3 separate regions of the Homo sapiens genome follow, and regions 1 and 3 are each linked to region 2. Evidence: promoter capture Hi-C in human tissues and cell types (Jung and others, 2019). All regions are on one chromosome and are shown on one strand. The core of a region is centred on a gene start or on the middle of the fragment in contact, and the rest is flanking DNA. Distances in the headings are between cores, read along the strand shown.

Region 1 (4,004 bases), core at 1,118-3,617, 400 kb after region 2:
GGAGAATGAGGGGTGCTGCAATTGTTATTTCTCATATTATTGAAACACTGTTTTTAGGGAAAAAACTCTCTTCCTTTAAACCCCTTAAAGGCCCAAAGAACTTTTAAATCCATTTAGTAGAATATTCTCGTGATCGACAAAGTTGAGCTTCTGCTCTTTAGGTGTCTTCTACACACTTTCTTCTTTTTTTTGAGATAGAGTCTTGTTCTGTCACCTAGGCTGGAGGGCAGTGGTGTGGTCTTGGCTCACTGCAATCTCCGCCTCCCAGGTCCAAGCATTCTCCTGCCTCAGCCTCCTGAATAGCTGGGATTACAGGTGGCCACCACAACACCCAGCTAATTTTTGTATTTTTTTTTTTTTAGTAGAGACGGGGTTTCACCATGTTGGCCAGGCTGGTCTCGAACTCCTGACCTCAGGTGATCCGTCCACCTCAAGTGATCCGCCCACCTTGGCCTCCCAAAGTGCTGAGATTACAGGTGTGAGCCACCAGGCCCAGCCAAGCTGCTGCTCTTTTGGGTGCTTTCTATACACTTCTATACACCTTCGTACACAGGGTGCTACAGACATTTCATAATTAAGCAGGGCTGTCTTGTTGACTACCTCCATGCAGAATACAACAGCAGCAGCACCTCTGGACTGCACAACACGGCAGCTCTGCAAACAGATCTGGACTGGTGTAGTAGTATGGCTGCCGCTGAGGCGGGAAAAACACTCCAGCCCACACAGATGTCATGTCATTTAAATATATGTGTTTGCGGGACATGTTTGTTGGTTTGAAAATAATGTTAAGCTGAAGCAGGGGTATACCCCATTAAAGTTTCAAACAATCTGGCTCTTGAAGTGTTCCAGATCCACAGAGTTAAAACCTAAGTATTTCAGGGTAAGATAATCTAGAGGCAAGGGCTCTGAGGTCAGTGATGACCACAGATCTTTAAAGGATAAAGTGCTGCTGGAAAAGTCAAGTAAGAAGGAAATGGAGTTAGAAACATTTATAGAATTTCAAGGTAAAAAAGATCTTACCAGTTCAACCTCCCCATTTTACAGACCCAGAGAAGTGATGTGATTTGCCTAAGATCACACAGCTGGTCCCTGGCAAAACTAGGTGAGAATCCAGGTCTTTAATCCTGAGCACAGTGCTCTACTCGGTAGATCAGTGTTTTTCTAACTTCTTTGATTTTTCGACTTAGCAGCAGAACCCTTCCTCTCCCTCTCGAAATTAAATCTCTTGTGGATCTCAATACGTCAAACGGATAGCAGTAATGGGTTATTAGTATACTCTTCCTTTATGAGTTAAAATGTGTATCTTTGACCCAATAAAAAGCCAAAAATGAGACTGAGTGAATCAAAGTTTTACAGATAAGGTTATGAAGGCTAGTTACAGCCTTAGCCACCAAATTATTTCTGTGTTTTGCTTTGGTGACACAGTGTTGAGAAAATCCTGTTACATGCATAAAGAAAGCAAAGGAGAGCAGTTTCCTCCCAGTTCTTGACCACTGCGGACAAGGCAGATGCAGCAGCAGCAGCCTGAGATCAGCACAAAACTACCCAGCAGCCTGAAGCAAAGCACCGGTGGCCCCCAAGGGGTTCCCATTTGGCCAAGACCACACTCAAAAGCTCCTTTCTGCCACCCACATGAGTGAAAGGTTGACAGCAAGGCGGGTTTTCCTAACAGTTTCTACAATAGTTAAATTAAGTTTAAAAAGTGACACTAGGGGCAAACATGCAGAACCTTCTCCGTGGGTTTTGAAGAACATGGCATGAAACCATGATGCTAGAAGAGACCCAGGCTCTCAAACTTCTCTGTGCACTCCTCCTGCTCCCGTGCAGAGTCCAGCCTGAGCTTTCTATTTGCAAAATGCAAGGCACCGGGACGAACACCTGTATCTTAAATCCCCTTGAGAGTGGGAGGGAGGGAGGACCCGCTCTTGAGCTGTCTTGAACCTGAACCCTATGGGATGACATGATCCATGGTGGGACACATCCTCAACAACACTTTTGTGTTCCCTTAGTGCCACCCCACACCAAAGGCTACGCTCTAAAAACATACCCCAGTGCCCTGCTGCCCGGCCCCTTTCTTGGAGGTGACACGATGCATATAGCAAGGGAGCCTGTATATGATCAATGGTGCAGCTGGCCCAGTGGTCATCAGAAATAAAATTCCAGTTAAGAAGCTCCAAGGAAGGCCAGCACCAGAAAACAAGGGGATGAGAGTAAGTGAGGCAACAGCTGCAAAGGCCTTTGGTGTTCTCAGTCAACCCAGGGCTTTGCCTCCATATTCAGCGCTGTGCCAAGTCACGCAACTGTCATCTAGGTACCTGGAGACCCCCTTGAGGCTCAGCCTCACAGGTATCTTGCATGTGTGTCTGCACAATCCTATTTGGACAGCACACGGAAGGGATGCAGGGTTATCAAGGACAAGCTGAAACAGGCTTCATCCACTGATGTTCATGGGCCAGGAGGGCTGAATTTAAGAGGAAGAATGGGATCTCAGGATTCCCAGCCAGCCCTGTTCTCAATGTTTCACCCCTTTGGGCAGCAGAAAGGACTAGGGACCTTCATCCAGCTCTGCCTTCTCCTTGGGAACCTGACATTCTGGGTGAGCCCATTAACCTTGAGGGGCCTTTGTTCCTTCCCCTGTGACACAGGACAGAAGCTATGTCCCATTCTGGGGGCTGATGGGATGGTCAAATGAACAGGTACATGTGGAAAATCTCAAAAAGATGAAAGTGCCATATGAATGTGTACTGCTGGAAAAGGAGGCAGACTGGTACAGAGAGGCAGCCAGGGTTGTGATGCCCGACTAACCTGGGTTTGAATCCTGGCTACTCCACATATTTACTTGTTAACTTATTTACTTACTTGGAACATTCGCTTATTCCAAAAAGTTATTTAAAGTGGCTCGCATACTAGCGACTGTAGTTGTGTGGTCTTGGGCAGTTTAACTAAGTTCCCTGAGCCTGGGTTTACTTATCTGTGAAATGGGGAAGAAAAAAAGATTGTTATCTCACTGCAGTTGTGAGGAGAAACAAGATTGGGCCCATCACAGCATCTGACATGCGGTAGGACTTGATAAATAATAACTCTCTTACCATTACTTTGCAGAGGCACATGGAACAGCTAGGGCATTTAAATGAAAGAGGACAACAGAACCAACAGTCTACTGGCAATTTCCCAGAACATTTTGTTTTACTAGGGGAACATCCTTGAAAGGAAATTCTTTGTTTCTTTTTTTTGAGATGGAGTTTCGCTCTTTTTGTCTAGGCTGGAGTACAATGGTGCGATCTTGGCTCACTGCAACCTCCGCCACCCGGGTTCAAGCGATTCTCCTGCCTCAGCCTCCTGAATAGCTGAGATTACAGGCACCCCCCACCATGCCCGGCTAATTTTTGTATTTGTAGTAGAGACAGGGTTTCGCCATGTTGCCCAGGCTGGTCTCGAACTCCTGGCCTCAAGTGATCCACTCATCTCGGCCTCCCAAAGTGTTGGGATTACAGGCGTGAGCCACAGAGGAAATTCATTTTTTGAGTCTGTATCCAAAAAGATAAGAGATTTAGACTGGCCACAGTGGCTCACGCCTGTAATCCCAGCACTTTGGGAGGCTGAGATGGGTGGATCACTTGAGGCCAGGAGTTCGAGACCAGCCTGGACAATGTAGCAAAACCCCGTCTCTACTATAAATACAAAAATCAGCCTGGCATGATGGTGGGTGCCTGTAATCTCAGCTACTCAGGAGGCTGAGGCAGGAGAATCGCTTGAACCCGGTGGCGGAGGTTGCAGTGAGCCGAGATCACACCATTGTACTCCAGCCTGGGCGACAGACTCTGTCTCAAAAAAAAAAAAAAAAAAAAAAAGATAAGGAGTTTAAAAATGCTAAGCTTCTCCATGCAATAGTGAGCTTCTCAGTAAATATGACCAGCCCACAGGGTGATCCAACGAACTACCAGTGTTTATTAGAAAGGAATGTAGCTCAAAGACATAAAATGTGGGGTTTTAAATTGGCAACT
Region 2 (3,992 bases), core at 32-2,531:
ATCACATGTTGTGATTCACTTAACAATAATTAGAACCAAAGCAAAATATACAGGGAGGCAGGTAGAATGTAAGTTCATTTCCTTGGCTGAGAAGCTGTTAAACATTCAAACCGAAGGATTTAAAATACTGAGAAGTCTTGCTTCTCAGGAGATGGTAGTAAAGAGGTGAACCATATTTTCCTGACCACATCATTTCCAAAAGTCACCAATTCCCTTAACATCCATTAACACTCACAGAACAAATTAACGCTCTATAGACATTATTCCATCATTAGTCACATTTTGCTTTCTCCTGCACTTGATCCAAAGGAAGTGAAGAGAAAATGGTAATCAGTTACTATAGCAAGTCTTGCGCCCCACTACTTTCCATTTCCTCTCTTTTCCATCTCCTCTGTCTTCTCTGCTCAACCTCCCTTTACTATGATGTTGCTTCCTCTTTTCCTTTCTGTCTCACACCCAGATCCCTTTACTTTCTCCATCAAGTATCCTCATTCTGCCCTCTGATCCCTTGAACTCTTCTTCCACCTACAATTTTCTTCTGTCCCCTCCTACGACATCTCAGTCCAGACCTCCTGTGGCCAGCCGTCCCCTTCTTCCTCACCTCCTGACCGCTCATTCCCCTGAATTCCCTTCCAGTTGCCTGGTTCTCACCTCTCTGTCCCTTGTGTCCTCTGTCCCTTTACTTCACATCCCTCTCATTGCCCCCATCCCTCATTTCCCCCTTCACATTTCCTTCCTCTCCTGTCTTTTAATCATTGGCACGTCCACTATCCCCTTCTCTCTACATGAGATTTCCTGAGTCTTCCCCCCAACACATTTTGTCCCTCAAAGACCCCTCCCTGTCAGTCTCCGAACCCTCTCGTTCCCCCAATACCCCTAGTCCTTGTTCCTCTGTTCCCCTTCCCGTTCCTTTGCCCCCAAGTTCCCCCTTCGCCCTTAGCCTCACGTTCCCGCTCGCCTCTCTCCCTCACGCCCTCGCCCCTCTCCCTCACGCCCTCGCCCCTCTCAGTGCCCCCGCCACCTTGCAGTCCCCGGGGTCTCCTCTCCCGGGCTCCCAAGCGCCCCCCGCCCTTTCCCCGTCCCCTAGTACCCGCCCCCCAATTCTCTACCCGGTCCCGGGCCGCGGCCCCTCCCTCACCGATGGTGGAGATGAAGGTGGTGTTGAAGGCGTCCTCTGAGAAGCGGAACAGGAGGCAGGTCTTGCCTACCCCCGAGTCGCCGATCAGCAGGAGCTTGAAGAGATAATCGTACGTCTTCGCCATCTTCTCGCTCCGGCCCTCTGACCGGGGAGCCAGAGGAGGCGGTGGAGAGAGGCGGGGAGGGGGCCGCGGGCGAGGGGGCGTGCCCGCCAATCCGCCGCTGCTCGCCCCGCCCCACGCCCCGCCCCTCCTCTCGGAGAAGGCCTGCGCGCCCCGCCCCGTGCGGCCAATCGGCGAGGGCTTCGTCATCACCGCCCGCGCCCCGGGACTTCATGGGACTTGTAGTTCCTCCGGGGAGCCTCGGGCGTGCCCCGCGAGGACTGTCCAGGCGGCTCCAGCGGATAAAAGACCTGCTATGGGCGGGGTGACAGGGTGGAGGCGTTTCCACCCGAGCTGGGAAGGGAGGCCCCGTTTCGTACTCTGCTGGTCGAGCCGCGGGAACTTAACTTTGTTATTTCTTTGTGTGCAGACGCCTTCCAAATCCAGGACCTCAGAATCAGAGCCCCGTAGTTCCCGCATCTCTTCCGCCGAGACCTGGAGCAGAGATGCTTTCTTTCCTTGGCGCTGCTGTGGCGCAGCCTACGGGTTATCTGCAGAGGGCATTATCCAGCTTCTCCCCGAGGCCATGCCCAGCACCACTATAACCCCCTCCCGCAGCCCCTCAGTCACAGAGCTGAGAAAGAATGGTTACCATGCTAACTCGAACCTCACTCGTGCCCCCTTCTTCACGCCACACAGACCAGAGCCAAATACAATGAGTATTTAGAGAATCTGCTACGCTGATCGCTCCCCTCTCCTCGCAGGAGGATGGATTTTTAAATCTGGGAAGTCTTGTGCTACAGGTCTGTGCCCCATGAAACTGCAAGCATCCTGTGAGGCGGGCCACGGGAATTTAGAGAGTAAGATTTGAATTTAGTCTTGGCTCTGCTGCAAAACCGCTGTGACAAGTCACACAGGCACTGGACATTTCAGTTTTCTCATCTGTAAAATGGATATGAAACAAGATACTTCATAGGGTTCCAGTGAAACTTAAATACTAAATGTGAAAGTTCTTTGAAACCCATAAGGCACTGTTAGCAGTGATGGTAATATTCATTACTCTTCAGTAGGCTCTCACTTAATTGATGACGAATATAGGGAGGAAACAGCATTCTGTTATACTCAAGTTAATCCTTTATTATTTATTGTCTTAGGCTAATTCTCTGTTTTGTGGATGTATTGTTCAGTCCCCTTTCATTTGCTAGTGGCAGAAACCCAACCGGATTAGCTGTTGTGAAAGGGGTGTTGACTGGTTCAGGTAATGTGGAAGCAAAAGGCTAAGAAGGTGTGGGACTAGGAGTCCACCCTGCCAGGGCTCTGTGTCTCTCATCTGTTGTTCTCCCTTCGAAGTTTTAATTTCTAATATGTCAAATACCGACAGGTAAAACCCACATGAAAAAAAGCTTCTTGGAGTCTTCAATAAGTTTTAAGAGGATGAAGGGGTCTTGAAACCAAAGTATTTGAGAACCACTGGTCCAGACATTTACCTTAGCTATAAGGAAACACCTTCTGGAAGGCTAGAGGTTATTAAGGGAACCAGTGGACTCCACCATTAGTGGAATAAGAAAAGGGGGGGGGGGAAAAACCGTGGACAGTTAGTTGAACAAACCAGCAGGCTTTTCTAAGGACACATACTGTGTGCCTTGTGACTTTAGGAACAGTGCCACTGATAATCCATTCTCAGTTGCATTGTGGCAGAAGACTTAGTTGGCCCTAGAATTGGCCTTCATTTTCTATGCGGGTAAAAGATGAAATGTGTCATCATTAACTGATTGATCATACAGTAGCCAGAGGGCTGCTGCTGCTGCTGCTGCTGCTTACGGAATGTCTCATTCCTAGAGTCCACTAGATAGGAACAAAGCTCTAATGAGTTCAAAGTCACAGTGTCTGCCCCTAATGAAGAAGGATTCTGCCCTCTGGCACAGGCTGAGCCCTCTTGCCCAAGCCAGTCCTTGAGCAAGCCTCTGAACGTGGCTTCAGCCATGATCTGAACAGTGTGGATTGTTCTATATCTTCCTCCTCATTCCTGGAAAAGAAGGGGAAAAAATTCCGCAAAGACCAGTGGAATTTATTTCTTTTTAAAAATGTATATTTATGGCCAGGCGCGGTGGCTCACGCCTGTAATCCCAGCACTTTGGGAGGCCCAGGCGGGCAGATCACGAGGTCAGGAGATCGAGACCATCCTGGCTAACACGGTGAAACCCCGTCTCTACTAAAAGTACAAAAAATTAGCCGGGCATGGTGGCGGGCGCCTGTAGTCCCAGCTACTCGGGAGGCTGAGGCAGGAGAATGGCATGAACCCGGGAGGCGGAGCTTGCAGTGAGCCGAGATTGCACCACTGCACTCCAGCCAGGGTGACAGAGCAAGACTCTGTCTCAAAAGAAAAAAAAAAACCGCATATTTATTAAAATGATGTTTAGTCCCACTGTCTGTATGCAACTATTATCACTCTCTTTCTATATGAATAAAAATGTAGTGATACGGTAAAGAACTTAAGTTCAAAAGAGAAACTAGCATTAGGAATTTTAAAGTCCCTAAATTTTCTTAGGGGAATTTTGTTAATTGATGGGAATTTTAAAAAATAATAATGTTGTCTTATTTTCACTTCCCCAGTTTTTCTCTGCTACCAAGTATATATAATATTGGGACTTTCTAGCTGGTAAGTTTGTGCACCACTGTTGAACCATTCAAGCATTTTGACATATTGATACTACTTCAAAAAGAATCAGATTTTTTTCTCTTACACATTATTCA
Region 3 (3,479 bases), core at 882-3,381, 430 kb after region 2:
TGCAAGTTGGACACAGGCTCCATGGGGCTCAAGTCCCACAGCCTGCTCCAGCACTGGTGGGCCAGGATCCCTGTCCACTTCCTCCCTGACACAGTCACCTCCTTTCAGGAGGAATCCCTGACCCCTGGTTGGCAACGTCTCACTGCACAGCCCATGCATTCCTTAATTTAACACTTCAGATAACTCTACTTATTTCTGGTGGAAAGAATATGGTCCTGCCCTCCACCTTAGGCTGATACCAGGCAACTGCAAAGGAAGCAATTTGGACTTGGATTTTCTATTCACTGGCTTAAGCACAGGACTTTTACTCAAAAAAAAAAAAAAAAGAAAAAAAAAAAAGGTCAGCACTGCTTCCAGTGCAAACATATTATGCTTTCTACATTGCATACTAGTCACAAAGTCCTGGGCTACAGTAGGAATTAAAACATGTAGTGAATTTTTCTTTGCAAGGCATTAAGAAATAAAGTTAACTGTGGTTTTGAGCTTCAAAAGCAACTAGGAAGCAAAATATAATTAAGGAAAGATGAATTTCATGCTGCGAGGTATTTACTGGTTAACTTCAGAAATGTTATATCTACTTGGGGATGTCTTTTTAGGCTCCCACTATCGACAAGGTCAGAGATGCTCAGAGTTACTGCAGGCCCTAGAATATTCTTTGTCTTATTAGCAAACTAACTGCAACCACAAATCCTGCTAAATAAACAACGGTGCTCAATGACTAAACTCCTAGATACGGACAATGTAGTACAGTGATTAGACAGCCATTGGGCCTTAAGGTGACCTTGGGGATATTACCCAAATTTTTCTGCCTAAATTTTTTCATCAGTACAATGGAAATAATGACAGTGGTACCTTATAAGACTATTGTGATGTTCAAATAAAGTAACACAGATAAAGCACTTGTAGTAGTATTTGGTATATGGTAAGTACTTAAGTTAGCAATTACTATTGTGACCAGTGCTTCCGGCCCCAAAGAGAAAAGAAAAAGATGATAATGATCAACAATATCACTATTAAGTAAAAAGCCTGGTGGGCTTATCCTCCTCCTTCCCCGCTGAGATGCAGGCTGGCAGCAACCTCCGGATGGGAAACTGACCTGATAGAAGTGATGAGACTCTTGATGGAGTCGGACACTGTATGGGAATGTCCAGCCAGTACAGACCAGGTGGGTGGGTCTTTGGGGTTGATGGCCAGAGAGCGTGCAGTGCGAATGAGGTACGATGAACTCTCCAGCATGGTCTTGGCTGAGACCAGGATTGGTTCCTGTGCCTGGGAACCCTGAGACCAAACAGCAGAGAAATCAAAGTCAGGGTCGAAGACATGAGTGAATGACGTGGGCCCTGAAAGGTCCTGTTCTTTGCCAAATCACCACCTCTGCCCTTTGAAGGAGACAAAGAGGGCAGGGAACCATGAAGACTGGATTACCAGGGGTCTGCATGGCGGGGACTCAAGCCCATGTTTGCCCCTTAAATAGCATTTTTTGAGTGTGACACATCCCAAGAATCGCCCCAAACCTAGGCAGTAAGATTGTTCTCTACATATATGTTATCTCTCAACAGAGGTGTAGTCATTGTGTTTCACTAACTGTGCACATGCCATCATTGACAAGAGTAACAGTAGCCTACATGTTGACAGAGAGAGCTGTTGGAGTTTTAACTAGTAACTCATTTGGTGCCACACAAAGTTAGCCAAAGACCTTAGTATGATGTTCCTGTAAACACTCCCTACCTCGGAGCTGATCTGGGCAGGAATGCTGACAAACTCAGGGTTTGAGGCGAACGCTGTCAGGTTCTCCACAGCTTCAATCAAGGGTGCGGTGGCGATGCGACACTTATTGCGGTTGTCTTCAGAGAAATCCCCATCCAGGGCCTGATGGGAGAAAACAGGGAGATTCTGCCCAATTGAGAAGCACAAATTATTTCTGAACCACAGTAATCACCTCTTAGTGAAAGAAGGTGGTTCAACCGGAACACTGAAAATCTCTGGTGACTTCATAAACAATAAATAGGAACTGATGAAAGAGACCCCTGCCATCAAGCAGAGGGGCCCAGTTAGATGTTGTGGAGAATTAAATGTGTAGCTCACAGGACAACTGACTCCACAGTCAACTTTCCACTCCCAGGAAGCAGAGACACAGATTTAAACAGCACCCTGCTCTTCAACGCCCCGTGACCCCCTGCACCAGACTATGCAGCGGGACTACTTTCCTCCTCACTTTTGAGACTACAATCCTTGGGATCTTTGCCTTCATTTTACTCAGATTAAATCTATTCTCTTCCAAACAATAAACATACCGTATTGTATTTTAAAGCAGTACTTTTAACTTTTTCTAAGTTTTACCTGGATATTCCCTAATGACTGATGGAGGCAAGGCAGGCATAACTGTCATCATTCTGAAATGAACACAATGGAATCTAATGAGAAGGAATAGATGAGAACTACCCCCAGCCATACAAATAAATCTCACAAACATCATATTTAACAAAACGGGCCACCCACAAATGGGTGCCTCCTGTACAATTCCATTAGTACCAAGTGCAAACACAGGTGACCCTCCTAATCTAGGGTGTTAGAAGAGCAGATAAGACCGGAGAGAGCATAAGGAAAGCTTCTGGGTGTCAATAACATTCTGTTTCTTAATCTGGCTAGAGTTACCAAGGGGTGTTCCACTTGAGAAAATTCACTGAACTCTAAACATAACGTGTTTTCTCTGTGTGTATCTTATGCTTCATAATTAAAAAAAAACAAAAACAAAAAACTAACAGCAGGTAACACAATGGCATTGCATGATCAGGCCTATTGCTGATTTACGGTCTGGATGGATAAGGATCCAGGAATGTGGCCTGTGATCCATGCTAGACTGCTAACAGAGGGTCAACACTTCGATGAGGTTCCCAGCCCTGGACTCTACCTCCTCAGGATCAAGACTGTTAGAACCTACAGCCTGTGACCCAATGACAGAAACCCTCCCTCCCAGCAAAAGGCTACACTTGACAAGGCAGTTATGTTTGCAGAAGAATGCAAATTTCCTTGTTAAATGACCACTTAAACTTTTAACTTAACCCTTATGAGCAACATATAAAGCCAATTTAGACAATTGGGATAAAAAAAAAACAGGGGCACTGGCATTACCAAGCAAAGCAGATCTGAGATGGGAGCATTTCTGTTTTTCAGTAGAGCAAGAGGAGGCAGCCACCGTTGGTTTGAAGGCGATTTCTGAATAACAACTACATTCCAATCAAGCCTTGGCAGCTTGGGACAATAATTACATACCCACAATGCTAATATTTTCAGAGGAATTCCCGCAAGCCTGGCTAATTTACTGTTTTTTGCTAATATAGTACCTGGCTTGCCTTGGCTCATGCCCTTCCCCCACCAGACAGGCCCTGACCCTACCCTCACCTCTCCAGTTCTGCCATTTTTCCAGGCCCAATGGAAACCCTTGCACGCCGGCTACTTCTTGCTCACATATAAAGCCT

What was found. Contacts are between HindIII fragments. The study calls those that stand out against the background at their distance.
Region 1: a contact is called between a fragment that was not itself captured here and the fragment with the promoter of RAB8B in region 2, in 1 of the 25 tissues and cell types used here (aorta).
Region 3: a fragment that was not itself captured here is called in contact with the fragment with the promoter of RAB8B in region 2 in 1 of the 25 tissues and cell types used here (H1 embryonic stem cells).

The regions. Positions count from the first base shown.
Region 1 is chr15:62,787,541-62,791,544 of GRCh38, reverse strand. The region is part of intron 45 of TLN2 (talin 2); the gene reads right to left. Among named protein-coding and RNA genes, the nearest start is that of MIR190A, 34 kb to the left of the region's middle. The HindIII fragment of the contact is 6,484 bases long and covers 1-4,004 here.
Region 2 is chr15:63,186,895-63,190,886 of GRCh38, reverse strand. RAB8B (RAB8B, member RAS oncogene family) reads right to left here and starts at 1,281. Exons shown (of 8, transcript NM_016530.3): 1 at 1,139-1,281. The coding sequence starts at 1,262. LOC101928972 (a long non-coding RNA gene) reads left to right here and starts at 1,456. Exons shown (of 4, transcript XR_932355.4): 1 at 1,456-2,041; 2 at 3,852-3,897. RefSeq lists a silencer at 1,197-1,526 and an enhancer at 1,707-1,856. The HindIII fragment of the contact is 5,046 bases long and covers 1-3,632 here.
Region 3 is chr15:62,760,071-62,763,549 of GRCh38, reverse strand. TLN2 (talin 2) reads right to left here. Exons shown (of 59, transcript NM_015059.3): 38 at 1,729-1,869; 39 at 1,097-1,278. Among named protein-coding and RNA genes, the nearest start is that of MIR190A, 62 kb to the left of the region's middle. The HindIII fragment of the contact is 6,877 bases long and covers 1-3,479 here.